6 separate regions of the Homo sapiens genome follow, and all the other regions are linked to region 1. The links are contacts of gene promoters, found by promoter capture Hi-C in blood cells and fetal thymus (Javierre and others, 2016). All regions are on one chromosome and are shown on one strand. The core of a region is centred on a gene start or on the middle of the fragment in contact, and the rest is flanking DNA. Distances in the headings are between cores, read along the strand shown.

The links. Contacts are between HindIII fragments. The CHiCAGO score rates a contact against its expected background, and 5 or more counts as called.
Region 2: a fragment that was not itself captured here is called in contact with the fragment with the promoter of RPF1 in region 1 in 6 of 17 cell types (erythroblasts, megakaryocytes, M2 macrophages and 3 more); the score reaches 11.4 in erythroblasts.
Region 3: a fragment that was not itself captured here is called in contact with the fragment with the promoter of RPF1 in region 1 in 2 of 17 cell types (erythroblasts and endothelial precursors); the score reaches 6.2 in erythroblasts.
Region 4: a contact is called between the fragment with the promoter of MCOLN2 here and the fragment with the promoter of RPF1 in region 1, in 1 of 17 cell types (naive CD8 T cells). The highest score is 5.9, in naive CD8 T cells.
Region 5: a fragment that was not itself captured here is called in contact with the fragment with the promoter of RPF1 in region 1 in 2 of 17 cell types (total CD8 T cells and activated CD4 T cells); the score reaches 5.6 in total CD8 T cells.
Region 6: a fragment that was not itself captured here is called in contact with the fragment with the promoter of RPF1 in region 1 in 2 of 17 cell types (erythroblasts and endothelial precursors); the score reaches 6.4 in erythroblasts.

What each region holds. Positions count from the first base shown.
Region 1 is chr1:84,478,004-84,480,703 of GRCh38, reverse strand. It overlaps RPF1 (ribosome production factor 1 homolog), which reads right to left and starts at 1,438. Exons shown (of 9, transcript NM_025065.7): 1 at 1,195-1,438. The coding sequence starts at 1,422. RefSeq lists enhancers at 862-1,021, 1,217-1,777. The HindIII fragment of the contact is 6,088 bases long and covers 1-2,700 here.
Region 2 is chr1:83,917,710-83,920,409 of GRCh38, reverse strand. It overlaps TTLL7 (tubulin tyrosine ligase like 7), which reads left to right. Exons shown (of 21, transcript NM_024686.6): 13 at 576-711. Among named protein-coding and RNA genes, the nearest start is that of LINC01725, 58 kb to the right of the region's middle. The HindIII fragment of the contact is 834 bases long and covers 835-1,668 here.
Region 3 is chr1:83,952,041-83,954,740 of GRCh38, reverse strand. It overlaps TTLL7 (tubulin tyrosine ligase like 7), which reads left to right. Exons shown (of 21, transcript NM_024686.6): 2 at 2,354-2,554. The coding sequence starts at 2,530. Among named protein-coding and RNA genes, the nearest start is that of TTLL7-IT1, 31 kb to the left of the region's middle. The HindIII fragment of the contact is 1,438 bases long and covers 556-1,993 here.
Region 4 is chr1:84,995,753-84,998,452 of GRCh38, reverse strand. It overlaps MCOLN2 (mucolipin TRP cation channel 2), which reads left to right and starts at 1,340. Exons shown (of 14, transcript NM_153259.4): 1 at 1,340-1,657. The coding sequence starts at 1,581. RefSeq lists an enhancer at 1-477 and silencers at 1,048-1,337, 1,948-1,997. The HindIII fragment of the contact is 4,780 bases long and covers 1-2,700 here.
Region 5 is chr1:85,252,772-85,255,471 of GRCh38, reverse strand. The region is part of intron 2 of C1orf52 (chromosome 1 open reading frame 52); the gene reads left to right. Among named protein-coding and RNA genes, the nearest start is that of C1orf52, 5.5 kb to the left of the region's middle. The HindIII fragment of the contact is 2,205 bases long and covers 245-2,449 here.
Region 6 is chr1:83,894,865-83,897,564 of GRCh38, reverse strand. The region is part of intron 18 of TTLL7 (tubulin tyrosine ligase like 7); the gene reads left to right. Among named protein-coding and RNA genes, the nearest start is that of LINC01725, 35 kb to the right of the region's middle. The HindIII fragment of the contact is 1,368 bases long and covers 731-2,098 here.

The sequences.
Region 1 (2,700 bases), core at 189-2,688:
AAAATTTGAGTAGCTTAACCTTTTTCCATAAAGCCTCAAATTAATTAAAGTATGTGATGGTTTCCACTGTGTTTTGTTTTGCCTAACTGGTGGCATCCTAAAGACGACCATGGTTATGCTGCTTGCTTCTCTTGAAAAGCACTAAAAATAGGAATGGGAGCTGAGTTTTCAGGTTGTTTTCCATAAAACCATCACCAGTTATTCACATATTTTATAATCAAAATATACTTCTAAAATTTAGTAAGAGCTTGCAAGGTGGCTTAAGATTATCTGTATTTGTATTGTCAATCTATATATTCTTCTGGAGATTTCTAGATAGAATGCTTGACAAAATAAAAAATATTCTTTTTTCCCCAGCACCTACTGATCCTCAATCCACCAGGTTTCAGATTAGAAATCATAGCTCCAATAAGTCTTCCAGGACATCCCTCCCCAATACGTGCATACCAGAATGAGTTAAACGCCCCTTGTATGTATTGAAACAGCACCTTGACACTGAACATGAGTAAGAACCAGTCCCGGGCCTCAGAAGGGCCAGTAAGAGGAGGCAGACACATAATAATAATATTGTGTGAACTTCTACGATGTGCAAGAATAAGCAAACGTTTTCTTCCAATTGCAATTTAACCAGAAATGAGCACTGCGACCTTGACAAGTCGTTTAAACCTCTTTACGTTTCAGTTTGTTTACCTACCAGAAACGTATAAGGATAAAGCTGAAAAGAACAAATACAATTACCAGAAACTTTACAGTACTAATTTCGGTAAGGAGCTCCTGCAGGAATCAGAGAAGCAGTATTTTGGATTTATTACGTATTGCCTCCATTTCAGATTCTGCAAATTAACCAACGCTACCTAGACGGACCAAAGGGCTGAGACTTTTGCCTTCTGGGCCAGGAGGGCGTAGTTTTCACTACTAAGCCAACTGGCCTTACAGCTTTCCTTGTGAATCTAGCGTCCCAGGAAAGAGCCTATCAAGATAATCTTCCACCTTGACGCTCAGGCAAAAGGCTGAACCTAGAGTCTCCAAACTAGGGCGAGGGGACCAGAACACGTGGGCCGCGACGCCACCCTTCCCACGGAGCCACAGAGAACACTTTTGAGACCAGCAGACAACCACAGATGTGCGCCCCGCGACCGCCCTAAGCGTCAGGAACAACGCGCAAGCGCCCGGCAGCCCCCGCCTCTCGCGTACCTTCCGCTGCTGCTGTTTCCACCGCGTGAACATTAAGTGTCGCCGCTGTTTGTTTTTAATCTCCGAAATGCTAAAGCCTGGCGGAAAGGCAGCCGCTTTCGGGGGTTGGACCCCGTTTTCCGTCGCCCCATCCCCAGCGCCTGCAGCCTCCTGAAGTTCTTCGGCAGCGGCTTTCCGTTTTAGACTTTTCTTCCCGCTGCTGCTGCTCTTATCCCCGGCTTTCGCCATGGTCTTGGCTCCTTTGCTTCCGTACGGAAACGGAAATAGCCTTCTCCTGTGACCCCCTTCCTTAACCTTTTACTTCCGGGGTCGCAAAGTTTTTGACGCTAGATGTGTTTTGTGAGTTTTAGCCATTCAAGAAAATAGTAAAGCTGAGGCTTGAGGAAACTTTAGGCAGTTTGCCCAGCTGTATAAAGAGTGAGATGATGAGTTTGGGCACTCCTTGCGCATCTATGTGCCCAGCCCTCAAAATAATGGAACAACAACAAAAACCGTGCCTGGATTAGTTTACGTTTTACTTGAGGGAAACCTAAAATGAGCATACAAATAAATTATGGTGAGCTACAGAGTAAGACATGGTATGGAAAAAAAATAGAACAGGATAAAAGAAGATGAAGAGACATTCATCTTTTTGAGACGGAGCCTTGCTTTAATGCCCAGGCTGGAGTGCAGTGGCACGATCTCCGATCACTGCAAACTCCTCCTCCTGAGTAGCTGGGACTACAAACACGTGCCACCATGCCCGGCTAATTTTTGTATTTTTGCAGAGATGGAGTTTCACCATGTTGGCCAGGCTGGTCTTGTACTCTTGATTTCAGGTGATCTGTCCGCCCTGGACTCCCAAAGTACGTTGCAATTTTAAATAGGATTCTCAGAGTAGGCTTCATTGAAAACGTTACATTGAGCCAAGGTTTGAAGGAGGTAATGGGCTAAACTAGTTATCTGAGGGAAGAGCTGTTAATCTGAGAAAAGCTGGTTATCAAGGAGAAAAGCTGTCCTGGCAAAGCAAACAGCCAGCTCCAATGCTCCTAGTCAGTAGCAAGCCAGGAAAGGCAAGAAGTGTTGAGATTGGACAGGTGGTGTAGAGTTTTGTAAGGACTTTGGCTTTTATTTTATGTGAGATGAAGATCTCTTATAGAATTTTGAGGAAAAGAATGGTATGATCTTAACATCTTAAAAGTATCAGGCTGGTGCAGTGGCCCATGCCTGTAATTTTAGCACTTTGGGAGGCCAAGGCAGGAGGATTGCTTGAGCCTGGGAGTTCAAGACCAGCTTTGGCAACACTGTGAGACCCCATGTCTACAAAAAGTAAAAAAATATATATATCTGTTTGGGCATGGTGTACATCTGTGGTCCCAGCTACTCAGGAGGCTGAGGCAGTAGGATCCATTGAGCCTGGAAGGCTAGGTTGCAATGAGCCATGTTGGTGCCACTGCATTCCAGCCTGGGTGAGAGGGTGAGACCCTCTCAAAAAAATAAATAAAAATAAAGTAAAAGCGTCATTCA
Region 2 (2,700 bases), core at 2-2,501, 560 kb after region 1:
AAAGAGATCATCAGAACCACTGCTTACATTTTTGTATACTTCAGTAACCACACTAAGTAAAAACACTCCTGCAGTATCCCTTATTACCTGAACACTCTCCTATAAAGTTCAGTATTTCTCCAATTTGCCCAATCACCATTCTTCCCCAACCATTTCCCCCCAACTAAACCCTTATACTGTACCTTCTGGAACTGCATTGTTTAATGCTAATTCTCTAGATAAACTTTGTTTGTGGATTTGTGCCACTATTAATGAATAGACTGAAAACCTTCATAAAGTTCTAAAAATACTCTTGTGCAATCATTAAAGTTTTGAAAGAATTTTATTAATTAGTGCCCAGTCAGCAAATACTCACATTAGAAAGTTACTAAGTGAATCTATTAGGCCAGTTATCAGTTTTCTGTCTGGAGGTTTAATATTTAATATCATTTTGCACTAATCAGTATAGAAATGCTTATACCTGGCAATGTGACTGGTATAGAATAGATGGTCAAGGATTGTCTATGGAGTTGATGTTAACTATTGAGCTACGACAGCTTCTTTTTAAAAAATTGGTTTATCTGATTTTGTTGTAGACGAATTTATCCTCCTGAAGATAAAGCATTACTTGAAAAGTATGAAAATTTGTTAGCTGTTGCCTTTCAGACCTTCCTTTCAGGAAGAGCAGCTTCATTCCAGCGAGAGTTGAATAATCCTTTGAAAAGGATGAAGGTAAGAGAATGAATGTTTATATAGAGAAAAAAGAATAAAGCTAAACAATATGTCTTTACAGACAAGCCACCTTGGTCCGACATATAAAAACATTTTACTTTTAAGATATGCTTTCCCCAAGCTTTCTATTTTAACAGTTGGTAACATTTCATGATGAACCAACTTACTTCATAAGATATCTACCAAGAAAAATTATGGAGTAGAGAATTGTGATATTATGTTGTAATATCAATATATTATAATAACGTATCTTCTTACATAGATGTGTATATGTAACTGGATAAAGAAACCCATGGAATTAACCTAGTGGTTTGTAGCGTTTTTATTTTTTGGATTATAACAAACATTACATAATACTTTTTCTTGATGCTATGTAGATCTAGCATATGAGAGGAAGTAAATGAAACACACACACACACACACACACACACACACACACTCTAATCTGTACACCATAGTAAAAGGTCTAGCAGTTTTCTATTATAGCATAACAAACCACTTCATTTATTTGCTCATTACTCTGCAATCGTGGCTGGGCACAGCTGAGTGGTTCTTCCGCTTGTCTTTCCTGGGGTGAATCATATAGTAGCATGTATCTGAATGCCCAACTGGGGCTAGAAATCCAGGGTAGCTTCACTCACATGTCTGGTGTGTCAGATAAGATAGCTGAAACATCTGGGAGCTGGCTGGTATCTCTTTCTCCCTACACAGTCTCTCAGCAGGGTAGTCAGACCTCTCAATATAGTAGCTCAGGATTCTAAAAGGGAGCATTTCAAGAAGATTCTTTTTATCCTAGTAGGAGCTCTCTATTTTAGACTTGATCTCTGCCTACATATGTCCAGACATGACAGATGACCCCAAAGAAGAAAATGGCCACTCATCTCTGCTCACCTAGGAAGAACTTGTTCCTCTTTGGAATTTAGTTTCTTTACATTACTTTTTACCTAAAGTAAAGCTTTCTGATGTTTTAGAAAATATGATTGTTTAGTTTATCTGGCCTTTTCTGGCTGTTATGATGAAAGTATTATCTGTTATATTTCTCCTAAACAGAAGCAGAACTCCTTGAGTTTCTTTTTGGCTATATTGTACTGCTATCCATGGAATTCATTGTAAGATTATTATTTAATAAAAAATGTATAATAAGAGTATTTTGGGATTTCAATAGCTAAATTTCCTTAGATTGGGACAAAGAGTAACTTACTTTACACATTTCTACTGCACAGTGAGATTTCTAGTTTCTTCAAAAACCTTTTCTAGAATCCTTTCTTAAATAACTAAATGATACAGTTGATTATACCTCTTTCAGTGTAGCTATTATACTCGTATTGTCCTGGCTTGCCTAATATCCACTGGGGTATATGCTTTTACAAAATTTCCTTTTGATTCAGAATATGACTCTAGTAGAACGCAGGAAAGGTGTTAGGGCACTTGTGGCTTTTTGCTACCTTTGATGACTATAGAATGAAAACCTTTATAAAGTTCTAAAAATACTTTGTGCAATCATTAAAATTTTGAAAGAGTTTCATTAAATAGTGCCCAGTCAGCAAATACTCACATTAGAATGTTTCTAAGTGAAACTGTTAGTCCAATTATCAGTTTTCTGTCTGGAGGTTTAATATCATTTTGCACTAATCTGTATAGAAATGATTCATAAACTTGAAATCTGGAAAACAGCATGAACTTTCCAGAAATTTTAGTGTCCAATGGGCTAATTTATTGAAGTATTATACTCTAAGATTTTAATACTATACTGTACTATAAAGATACATTTGTTTAGGATAATTAATACAGAATAGATTTTGGCTATGTATTAATTATAATGCCAGATTTTAGTGAAAGTTTCAAGAGAATTTGCTGTGACCCTTTAATATTTCTCCTTTTTTCTGAGCAATCTTCACTAAATAATTTCAGGAATCCTTGCTCTGCATTATTTTGTGGAGATTAATCAACTTGGAAAAATTCTAGAGTCCATTAGTGGTTGTAATTTTA
Region 3 (2,700 bases), core at 25-2,524, 530 kb after region 1:
TTGTTGCATTGTCATCGTGTGCTTACAGTAGAGGTTCTCAACCTTAGCTGCACTGGAATCACATGAAGAGCTTTAGAAATGCTGATGGTTGGGCCCCACTTAGTTCTGGGGTGTGGCCTGGACAGCAGGATTTTCAAAAGCTCCTCATTCAGGCAATTCTGCTTTGCAGCCAAGGTTGAGAAGCCATTGGCTTAAAGCATTTCAGAGGTAACTGAAACATGTTTTCTGCTTTTGGAAAGTAGGTAACTATGGTTTCAAATGAGTGGTGGGATAAATCCGTCATCTCAAATCTCTTGCTTAGAATAAAGCTGATTAGAATTGCCATGGTTGAATGAAGTCCTTGAGTTTGTTAAAGCACTTTGACTAAGGCATAAATGGAATTAAGTAAAGCGCATATATGCATAGTATAATTTTAAGAACTTTAAATTCCTGTATGCCTTGGGGAAGGGATAAAAGTTCTTGTTTTGAACTCTGTACAAATCAGCCATTTGACTTATTATTTAAGTCAAAAACTAACAAATTTGTTTTTAGAATCTAGTATAGTTAGGTGAAGCTTGTTTTTAAAGTCTTGTTGACTTTGTCACCTACTTTCAATGTAATAAGTATTCTGTTACTGTAAAGGGGATCTTTGTTTACTCCAGTAACAAGATGTTGGACAAAAAACTTGTAAACTCAAATAGTTACTTCCCTGAGGTTTCAGAGAGCCTCCAGAAAGAAACTGAACTAAACTTTACACTACTCCTTTCTTTTATTCTGAGAAGTGATCCAGTCTGTTTCCAGCTTGGCATTGGGAGCTGAGATCAGTTTAGAGATGTTTTACTGTGAATTCACTGTTTGAAGTATTGCAAATTCCCAGAATATGGCCATATCTTGCGGCATGTACTGCAGTAGGGTTGGAAACTTCTCATATGTCTATATATTATGTTAGCATGGGGTCTGAAAATAGGGGAGCTTAATGAATAGAATAATTAGAATTGGGTTTAAAGTCTAAGTTTTCTATTTCTAAGCCATGTTACCTTGATTTGTTTAACTTATCTAGCCTTAGTTTCTTTTTCTGGAAAATAGGGAGAAATGATACCTAAATTTAAAGTTTGTTAATGAAATAAAATATTTAAAATGCTTAATAAAATGCCTACCTACAGTTGGTCTGTAATAAATAAAAGTTCCCCGTTTTGATATTGAATTATACTAGACAATCATTTTAGTAAAAATGATACCTGAGAACAAATAAAACCCTAAATTTTCTTTAATATTGAAACATTAATAATAATGAATATTTGGAGTGATATAGGACTCACGTTTTATGTAGCTGAATGTTGGATGTTTCTGAATTTCTGATAAACTTGACAATCTAATAAAGGTGTTGATATTATACCTTTGCTTATCATAATAGGTTTTATTTTTCATTGTGTTTATAGATATTTTACAAGAACTGAAGGATTCTTACAATAAGGAGAAATTAGAAAGTTGATAGTACAGACTGAACAATATGGTATTGTTAGGGCATAAATGCCTACGTTCATATATTTACAATGAAAATACAAGCAAAGTGTACTATAGGCCATGTTGAGATGTAGCCAGATCAAATTAATTCATTGATTGTTGCATTCCTCTGTGTGCCTGAATAAAATCATCATAATAATGACCCCACCCATTTTCTGTCCTTCAAAACTGTTCTCATTTTTTAAGGCACAATTCAAGATGTGGTTTACTTTATTAAGTTGTCCCCCATAATCCTTTATATAGGAATCACTTCTCTGCATTCTGTCAACATGTGACCTCTACCCTGCCTGGCACTTTTCACTGTCTCATATTAAAAGCAGTGTTTCAGGCATTGGGTTGAAGGTTGTGTGGGTTTCTAAATAAGACACTCTGGCATTGACATTAGAAGAATCTTCATTTTAATCTCTGTGTTGTAATTTTCTTTGTAAAGATACACAAAATAATTTGTCCTTTCTAAGCTCAACTTATCTGTAAGATGGGGATAAAAGCTTCTACCTTACAGGTTTGTTGAAAGATTAAATGGTATAATATAAATGCCTAAGATAATAAGTGTTCAATAAATAGTAGTGAATATTGTTATTGCTGTTATTGTTTGTGTATAGTATATTATTTATTGAATATACATGTGACACGTGACTTAATAAAACTTCTTCCCCTAGACTATGCATTCTTTCAGGATAGGAAAGCATCACTTGGCATTTTGCGTAAGGTTTAATAAACCGATTTACAATTATTTGTTGATTGAACACATTAACTTTCACCTTGACTTTTAAAAAGAATAGTCTTGGCATATATGAAAAAAAATTCAAAAAAGTTTTTTCTAAATGACCTTGTTTTAAAATCACTGCAGGTACCTTGTTATCCCATAACTTTGGTATCCTGAAATCTGAGGATTCCACCAAGATAATATGATAAGAACTTTCAGTGATTTGGGGCCATATCCTACTTAGACTAATGTGGAATTTCCAGATTTCCTGAGAGCTTGGTACAGCAGCACACACTGCTTGCTAATCAGCACAGGCAATAATGCCATCTCTGCCTCAAGAAGGAGGTAGGGAAATTGACTTAACTATGTTACAAAATATGGAGGTGTTATACATCATTACTGTTAATATTTTTAAAGTATTAAAAATTAATTGGGGACTTTTTAAAGTACCAGGATTTGTAATTTTACCTTGGTGTGGGGTGGGGGTGGTA
Region 4 (2,700 bases), core at 91-2,590, 520 kb before region 1:
CTCATCTCTAAGATTCACGAACGGCGACCGATTGTCTGTTCGATTTCCCACAGGCGTCTTCCTTTCGTGCACCAAGAGGGAAAAGCAACGGCGGCTGCAGCAGGGCGCTGGGGTTACGAGTCCAGCCCTGGGGCCGTGCGCCCTCCCTCCGCGCCCGCCGGGCCACGCTGACGCTCCCTCCCGGCTCCCTGCCTTTCATCCCGACGCGGGCGCAGGGCAACTCGCTTTTCCTATTCCTTGCGCGCCGGTCGCACTTTCTAACATCTCAGAAATATGGCCCTTGTCACAGACTTTCATGATCGTGCACTTTAGAGAAAAGCCAGAATGAATGAACTTGTCAGTTTAATGTGAAGTCCTCAAGGGAAAGGACCATGTCTTTGTCATCCCAGAGACCACAGTACCCAACGGTCGGCTTGGCTCTCAGTGAGTGTTTCCCTAAGCATCAAAACAGGAATGACCAAAGCAACGGACAAATTAATGCATGTGGAAACAAGAAATGAATGCATGAGAGAGTGAAGAAAAGAAGGGGCCAGGCGCAGCGGCTTACACCTGTAATCCTAGCACTTTGGGAGGCGGAGGCAGGAGAATCGCTTGGGTCCAGGAGTTCAAGACTGCAGTCAGCAGTGATCGCAGGTCAGGCGACAGAGTGAGACCCGGTCTCACCACCACCCCCCCGAAAAAGGCAGGAACCCCAGAGGGCCGGGAGTGCCAGGTGCGGCCGCCCGGGAGCGGTGTGGAGGGTGCGTGGGCCACTTTGCCGCAGGGCCCACCGCCCGGGTCCCTCTGTAAGGCGCTTCTCCGGCAGACACCCCGAGCCAAAGCGGGCCGTACCGCAGCGTTGGGCACTTGGGTGGAGAGTGCAAGGGCGGCGGGCCTGCGCCCAGACAGGTGTAGCCGTCCCACGCTAGGTGTCCTCCTGCCGCTCCCTGGCCGCGCCATGCCTCGAGGCATGGAGGTGCTGGACCTGCCGGTGTGCAACCGCGCCTCGGGCCTGTCCTGGGGGCCGCACCACAGGTCAGTGCCCCACGGCGCCCTTGGCGTGCCCCACGCCTCCCTGGGGGCCCCACCGCCGCCCCCTTTTGGGACTGCTTACTTCCTCGGCTCTTCTCGCGCGCGCCTCGGTTCCATCCCCTACGGCCCCCACCCCGCCTCCGCGTCGCCGACCCCCTTCTCCGGGAGCGCGGGGAGGCTGGTCCGCTGAAGCGTGGAATAAGTCCCCTAGGACCCCAACTGGGGAAGCTCCGGTCCCCGGTAGGAGGCGGCGGGGCGGGGCGGGGCGGGGCAGCCCCTTGGGGGCGGGGCGGGAGCGCCTGGCCACGCGCCGCATCCTGCAGGGTGCACACAGAGCCGCCTTTCAGCCGCCCGAGAACTGCCCGCCGCACTCCACGACTGCGGCGCCTGCTCTCGGGCCGGGGTCTGCGCGCACCACGCGGCCGGCAGAAAGGGTAAGAGAAGGGAACCCCGCTTTGCAGGGCTCCAACTTCGGCGGACGCGTTACGGCGAGGGCGAAATGAGTCGGCCGTGAACGGTGTTTCCTGTTCCGAATCCCGAGAGCCCTGGAAAGTTTTGAAGGAGGAGGCATGGCCCGGCAGCCTTATCGTTTTCCCCAGGCAAGGATTCCGGAGAGAGGATCAGGTGTTTTCAGGTTAACCGTCAGGTGAGGAGTCTGGGCTTCATCTTTCAGGATGCTGGACTGGAGAAATCTTCCTAAAGTCGATGGCTTTACTTTCGTAGACTAGAGCTTGCTTGCTGCCTTGGGAATGCTTATATTAACTGCTTGCAGTTAGTTAAATAAGGCTAGGCTGTGCCTTCCAGAACAAACAGGCCTTTCCCTCAGGTGGGAGGGTTGTAGTGTGGCTAACCCCAGTTCCTCGGCCTTTATGAAAAGGCGCACAGTTCAGCCGGTTGGCGCTGCCAGCGGGCCCCTCCTCCGTGGTCAAACCTCCAGCCACCCCAGCACAGTTGAGCCAAAGTTGTGAGTACAAACAGACCTTGGCTCCCCCGTTTCCTGCTCTCCAAACATATATATATATATATATATATATATATATATATATATGAAATATATACGTATGTGTAAGTGTGTGTGTCTCTGGTTGAACGGTACTTGTGGGAAACAAAATTGTGTGTCATTGTAAACTGAGAATGGAAGAAAAGGTTAGTAAGAGAAAGGTGGGAGAGGTTTCTTATGGGTGTCAGGATGTAGACTCTGATATTTTATGTAGAGGGAACCAACTACGTAGTTCTCCCCAGAAATGGGATGTGGGTTTCACTCTCAGGAGCTGCTCATCACCTTTGTGATGTGCTAACCAAAATCGCACAACTTTTGGGAAATTTGATAGCTTTCCCCTATTGAGTCAGAAGTTTCTTGAGACTTTAGCCTGTCTTCCTCTTCATACCTTAAGAGGAGTCAAACTCCCGTTGCCGTGAACTTTCCACAGGCACACCCTTCTCCTTTAGAAAACCGTTCATAGGTCAGTTTCTGTGGCCGGAACTCTAAAAACGACACATTTTCCATACAGAGGCCATCATAATACCAATTTTATTTAACCTCCTGTAATAAAAAATGAGTGAATCCTAATAAAGTGTTTGAGGTAGCCACATTCTTTTCTGTGAAGGAGGAACATATCAAAAGTGTTTTTTTTTAAAAAAATAGAGTAATAGATATAAAATATTTTAATGAAGCAAGTGAGAAGAACT
Region 5 (2,700 bases), core at 98-2,597, 770 kb before region 1:
TTCAAGCGATTCTCCTGCCTCAGCCTGCCAAGTAGCTGGGACTACAGGCACACGCCACCACGCCCAGCTAATTTTTGTATTTTTAGTGGAGATGGGGTTTCAGCATGTTGGCCAGGGTGGTCTCGATCTCCTGACCTCGTGATCCGCCCGCTTCAGCCTCCCAAAGTGCTGGGATTACAGGTGTGAGCCACCGCACCCTGCCACTTCTGGTTTTAGTGGTTGTAAAATGTAGGTAAGCAAAGCTTAGTTATTAGTTGTAGCTTTATTGACATGTATAATAATTAATTGTAAAAGCATAATTAATATAGTGATTTTTAGTTTACACTTTTTAGAATTTAGAAAGTTTGTCTATTGATAAGTTAAACTTACTTGAGTGATTTGAGTTCCATAATAAAAAAATTGTTTCCTTACCAGTACATCTATACTATATGAGACCGAGTAAAAAAGCTCAGTAAAATTGATAAATGAACATTGCTCAGATTTTTTCCTACTCTAGTTTATAAAGCAATGCCTTGTCATGACACTAGATGGCATAGCACTTCTGCTCAAATCACTGATAGCCAGTTACTTTTTAACTTCAGTAGTTTGTGGTTTTGTTATTCAGTTAATTTACTTGTAATAAGTGGCAAATTAAAAGCAAAAATATCTCAGTATCATCTAAATGTATGCTAATGCATAGTGAATATTATAGTAAACTTAGTACTTTCCATTTTTATATTATCACTACTGAAAATCTCAAAAGAGGAGCTTAGTGATAATTAACTCGTTAAAAAGCAAAAGGTGCCGGGTGCGGTGGCTCACGCCTGTAATCCCAGCACTTTGGGAGGCCGAGGTGGGTGGATCACGAGGTCAGGAGATAGAGACCATCCTGGTTAACACCGTGAAACCCCGTCTCTACTAAAAATACAAAAAATTAGCTGGGTGTGATGGCAGGCACCTGTAGTCCCAGCTGCTTGGGAGGCTGAGGCAGGAGAATGGCGTGAACCTGGGAGGTGGAGATTACAATGAGCTGAGATGGTGCCACTGCACTCCATCCTGGGCAACAGAGCAAGACTCCATCTCAAAAAAAAAAAAAAGCAAAACGTTTGGCTTGTTTTGGTGGTATACCATGTTATTTGGTTTGTGGAGCCAGTGTTTTTGTATGAACATGATGAACTACTGATTAAAACTTTGATTTGTAAATTCCTGGGGTGAGTTGATCTGAATTGTATTTTATTCCACTGCCTACATAAATCCATAGTGCTCTGTGAAGCATATGAATAACATCACCGTGCTGTGCTTGAAGGGGAGTGAAGATGAATGGTATTGATTGTTATCTGCATCAATAAATGAGATATTCTGATTATGGTACAGTCAGCAGAAGGGAATTGAAGGCTTAAGATTTTAATATTTCCTTCAAGGAATTTATGATTTGATGTCAGTAGTTCCTCACATTTTTTAATAATGAAGGCTCCTTTCAATATCAAGATATTTTATAGATCTCCACATGATAACCTGTTGAACTTTTTGAGTATCTGTTGATCAAGAAAATAAAGTCAAAAGCTACAATTAATTAGTAATGTGCTCAAAATAAATTTGTATTTTATAAATCATAACATCTTTTCCATGTTACTCTGTCTATATGGAGTTCTTAATACCACACATTTGCTTAGGGAGATGGAATTAGCAACTAGTCTGTGCTACCCTGTATTTTTTTTTTAACCATGTAGTTGGATTTTTTAAAATACAATAAAAGAGTTCACTTTTCCAGGTTTGACAACATTTTTATGAATTGGAAATTTTCTGTGGCTACAGATACTATTAACATTTTGGAAAGGTGTAAAGAACATTGTTTTAATGTAAGGCTCTTCTCTAACCTCCCTCCCCTCTCCAAATTCTCCATAATATGAAGTAGGAAGATATGTATTTTTCTGTTGCCATTAAAATGTTCTGGCCATCGTGGGAGTGGGGATGGGGAGGGCGGGGATGGGAATTAGAACTTACTAGAATAAAATTCCAAATAGAGGTTTGGGGAAACCTACTTGTGAGTGCTTTTTAACCTCAAAATAAGGATTTGGGGTGGGTGGAGAAGGTGATGGGGCAGAAGAAGTTGTTTTTGGAGGAGAGAAAGCAGATTGAAAGGAAAAGGACAGCTGATAGCCACTTAAATAATGTCATCGTTAGAGTGATACCTATTTTTTGTAAAAAGAAAACAATATGCTCCATTCTTACAAAGCATTGATTGTATTTTAATATATACAATGTAAATACTATCATGCAGTGGTGTCCAAGGGAGAGAATACAGTCATGAGTTCTTAGTTTCTGTTATTGGTTGGGCCAATAAAGCCCCTTCATCATCCTTCTTTTCTGCTTATCACTAGAGACAGAAACTAAAAACCATGGCTTCAGGCTGCTAAAAGCCTAAAACAAAACAGAACAACAACAACAAATAAGGCAGGTTGGACAAGCTTGCTGAGTATTTGGGAGCCTTTTTCAAAAGTCTGATTTGGGGGAAGTAAAGTCACTTATTTTAAGCTACCTTAGTATAGCACCTAAAGAGTTACTTTGTGAATTTTGTATGGCTGCAATTGAAAAAAAAAATTGCTCACTTTCACTTGCATTTAAAAATCAGAGCTCTAAAAGTTAATTCTTGTTTTTTATTGGGAAACTCTGAGAGAAACATTAATTGATGAGGGTAATAATTTTGGTATAAAGCCAGTG
Region 6 (2,700 bases), core at 165-2,664, 580 kb after region 1:
GTGGATCCCCAGTGGGGAAGCCATCAGCTAACTGCATTCTTTGAAACATGTTAATTTAAGTGGCACATCTCCATGGCTGCCACAAAGGCTGTGCGTGATACATTTTAATTTAACAAACATTTATTGATTGCCAATTTTATACAAATAATATGCTAGACACTGTTAGGGATTTTGAGAGTTGTTTACTCATTCATTTATTTGCTCACTTAATCATGCATTCAACAGATATTTATTGAGGGACTACCATGCCCCAGGCACTATTCAAGGTATGGAAGCACAAGACTCTTATTTAAGTATCTTAATTCCATTTAGAGACCATTATGGAAATATATATACCACTTTTCCTGTTCCAGGATTGAGGCATTTGTGGTTATTAGCCTGTTGTAAAGCTCCAAGATTAGAATGACATACACACAGAGTCTTTCACATGCTTTCCTTTTTTCTGTTCTTGGAAATTAAAAAAAAATTATTTGCCTTCAAATTTTCCTTAATGGATGTAAAATGTAAAGATCAAGGGTATGGGAATTAAATCCTGAAAAGAACCCTCACCAGGTGAAAATGGAAATAGTTAATCTTATTTAATGTCATGTTGTGGTAACTCCATACTTGCATAATTTAGCTTTCTGCCAAGAATGCAGTTGCTTTATATAGTTTGTGAGGAATATATATGAAGTATGAAAATATAGTCATGTTGGTGGGCTGCAAAGAATGCCAGATTTGCTGAAAAGCTTATTATCTGATGTGATACCTAAACATAAACTAAGAGTGGAGGATGAAGAGAAATAACTAATGACATTAAGGTTGTACTGTATTTGCATTTATTTTAGGGTGCTAAGAGGTCCTTGTTTATCAAGTATTACTTCTCTAAATAGCAATTTATTTTTAATACCTACTGTGGCTGCTTCTGCATGCATTTTGATGATACTATTTTCCGTCTCTGTTTTATTCAGGCTGACATAGATGCTGTTCAGAGCTGTTCGTTTTGCATCAGCAAAGATGCCTTTACCCTATAGCCATCGCTGCTGCATGCATCATTAGTACAGCATGTAGTGATTTTAATGTTATTTCTAAACCGCCTTCACCTCGTGCCATTATTTTAATTTAGGACCAACTGTTCGGCCATATGGAGCAGTTTGTCATTCAACATCTGTATGCTTTTGCAAAATATGAATTTGTCTGTGTGCTTTATGCCTTCAAATGTGCTATATTTCACATGGAAAAGACAAATCTTTTCATTTTATTAATGTTGTCATTGACTGAATCTCCCATTTGTTTTTTCCCTTGGAGAGCTTAATGTTGGATTGGGATGCTTTTAAAAGTCATAATGTAAGGAAATGGATACCTATATTCTATAAATTAGCCTCACGTAAGCCCACAGATAACACAAGGGCACCTTGCTGATCATTTATTTTTGTGTTTCACGAATTATTCATCTTCCATCCAATTTCTTCAATCCCCAAAGGACCAGAAATCCAAAAAAGCATCACAGGTAGAACTAGCACTAATTTATCTCATTCCAGTCTGATTTCTTGCCTGCCTGGTCTGTGCTTTCTTAAAATTATTAAGTGAGTATTTGGCTAAAAGTACAGTCATTGTCTCCCCATCTGTATAGCCTTCTAAACAAACTATTCCTTACTCCGTGGCCATAAAGGAGGGGGTGCCTAGGCAACCTTGTTTTTACACAGTGATCCCACTCTCCTCCCAAATACCATTTGACTAGAAATGAATCTGAATCTAAGAAGAGATAATGGGGTTCTCTCTAGGCTTTTGCTGCTGGCATCTGGAAAATCTAAATTGTGAGGCAGTGCTGGATGTAGTTAAGAGCGTAGGTCTGGATACAATGAGCTGGGTAATCTTGGGCAAGTTACTTATCTGCTTTGTGCCTGAGTTTTCTCATCCATAAAATGGGGATCCAAAATGTTTTCACGACCAAAAAAATTTTCATAACCCCTAGGCAGCAAAACCTAACCTACCTGAATTCATTTGGTGACAATGACCTGACAAGAAGTTATGTATTGATTTTGTCTATCTCTTGGTTTGAATATTTACATTTTTTTCCTGCAGAATTAATAATATGTATGATTATGGAATCTAAGCTTGAGATTTTTGGAAAGGGACTGTGGACCAATAGTATCTACCTCATGTTTTTGTTTTGAGGACTAAATGAGTTAATATATGTAAAAGTGCTTAGAACAGTGCTTGGCACATGGTAAGTTCTCTCAATGATTTTTTACCTTGTCTACATAGGTGTGACTTTCTTGCAAGGAATGACTTACTAAGACAGGAACCTACTAAATGATAGACCTTGTCTTAAGCCTTGGGGACCTGGTAACTTTATTATCAAGATGGGCACAGTTTACTCCCTTTATATGCATAACAGTCTCCATTAATTAAACAGGAAATTAAAATAAAATAAGGTGCTTGCTAATAAAGGAAGAACTGGGCATTAAGATATCAAACAATAGTTCAGTGGCAGGTAAAGTTTTCCTTAGAAGTGGCATTTGAAGTGAAACATAGAAGTTTATCAGATGAAGAGATAGGAGAAGACTGTTTCAGGCAGAGGAAGGAGCTTATGTGAAGACTCAGAGGAGAGTTGAAGGATTTGGGTTCCTGTTCCCTCAGTCTGTTGTTCCATGCCCTCCAAATTATAGGGGTGGGTCTCCGAGGACCAAAGCTTGCCTTCTTGCGGAGGCTCCTTGA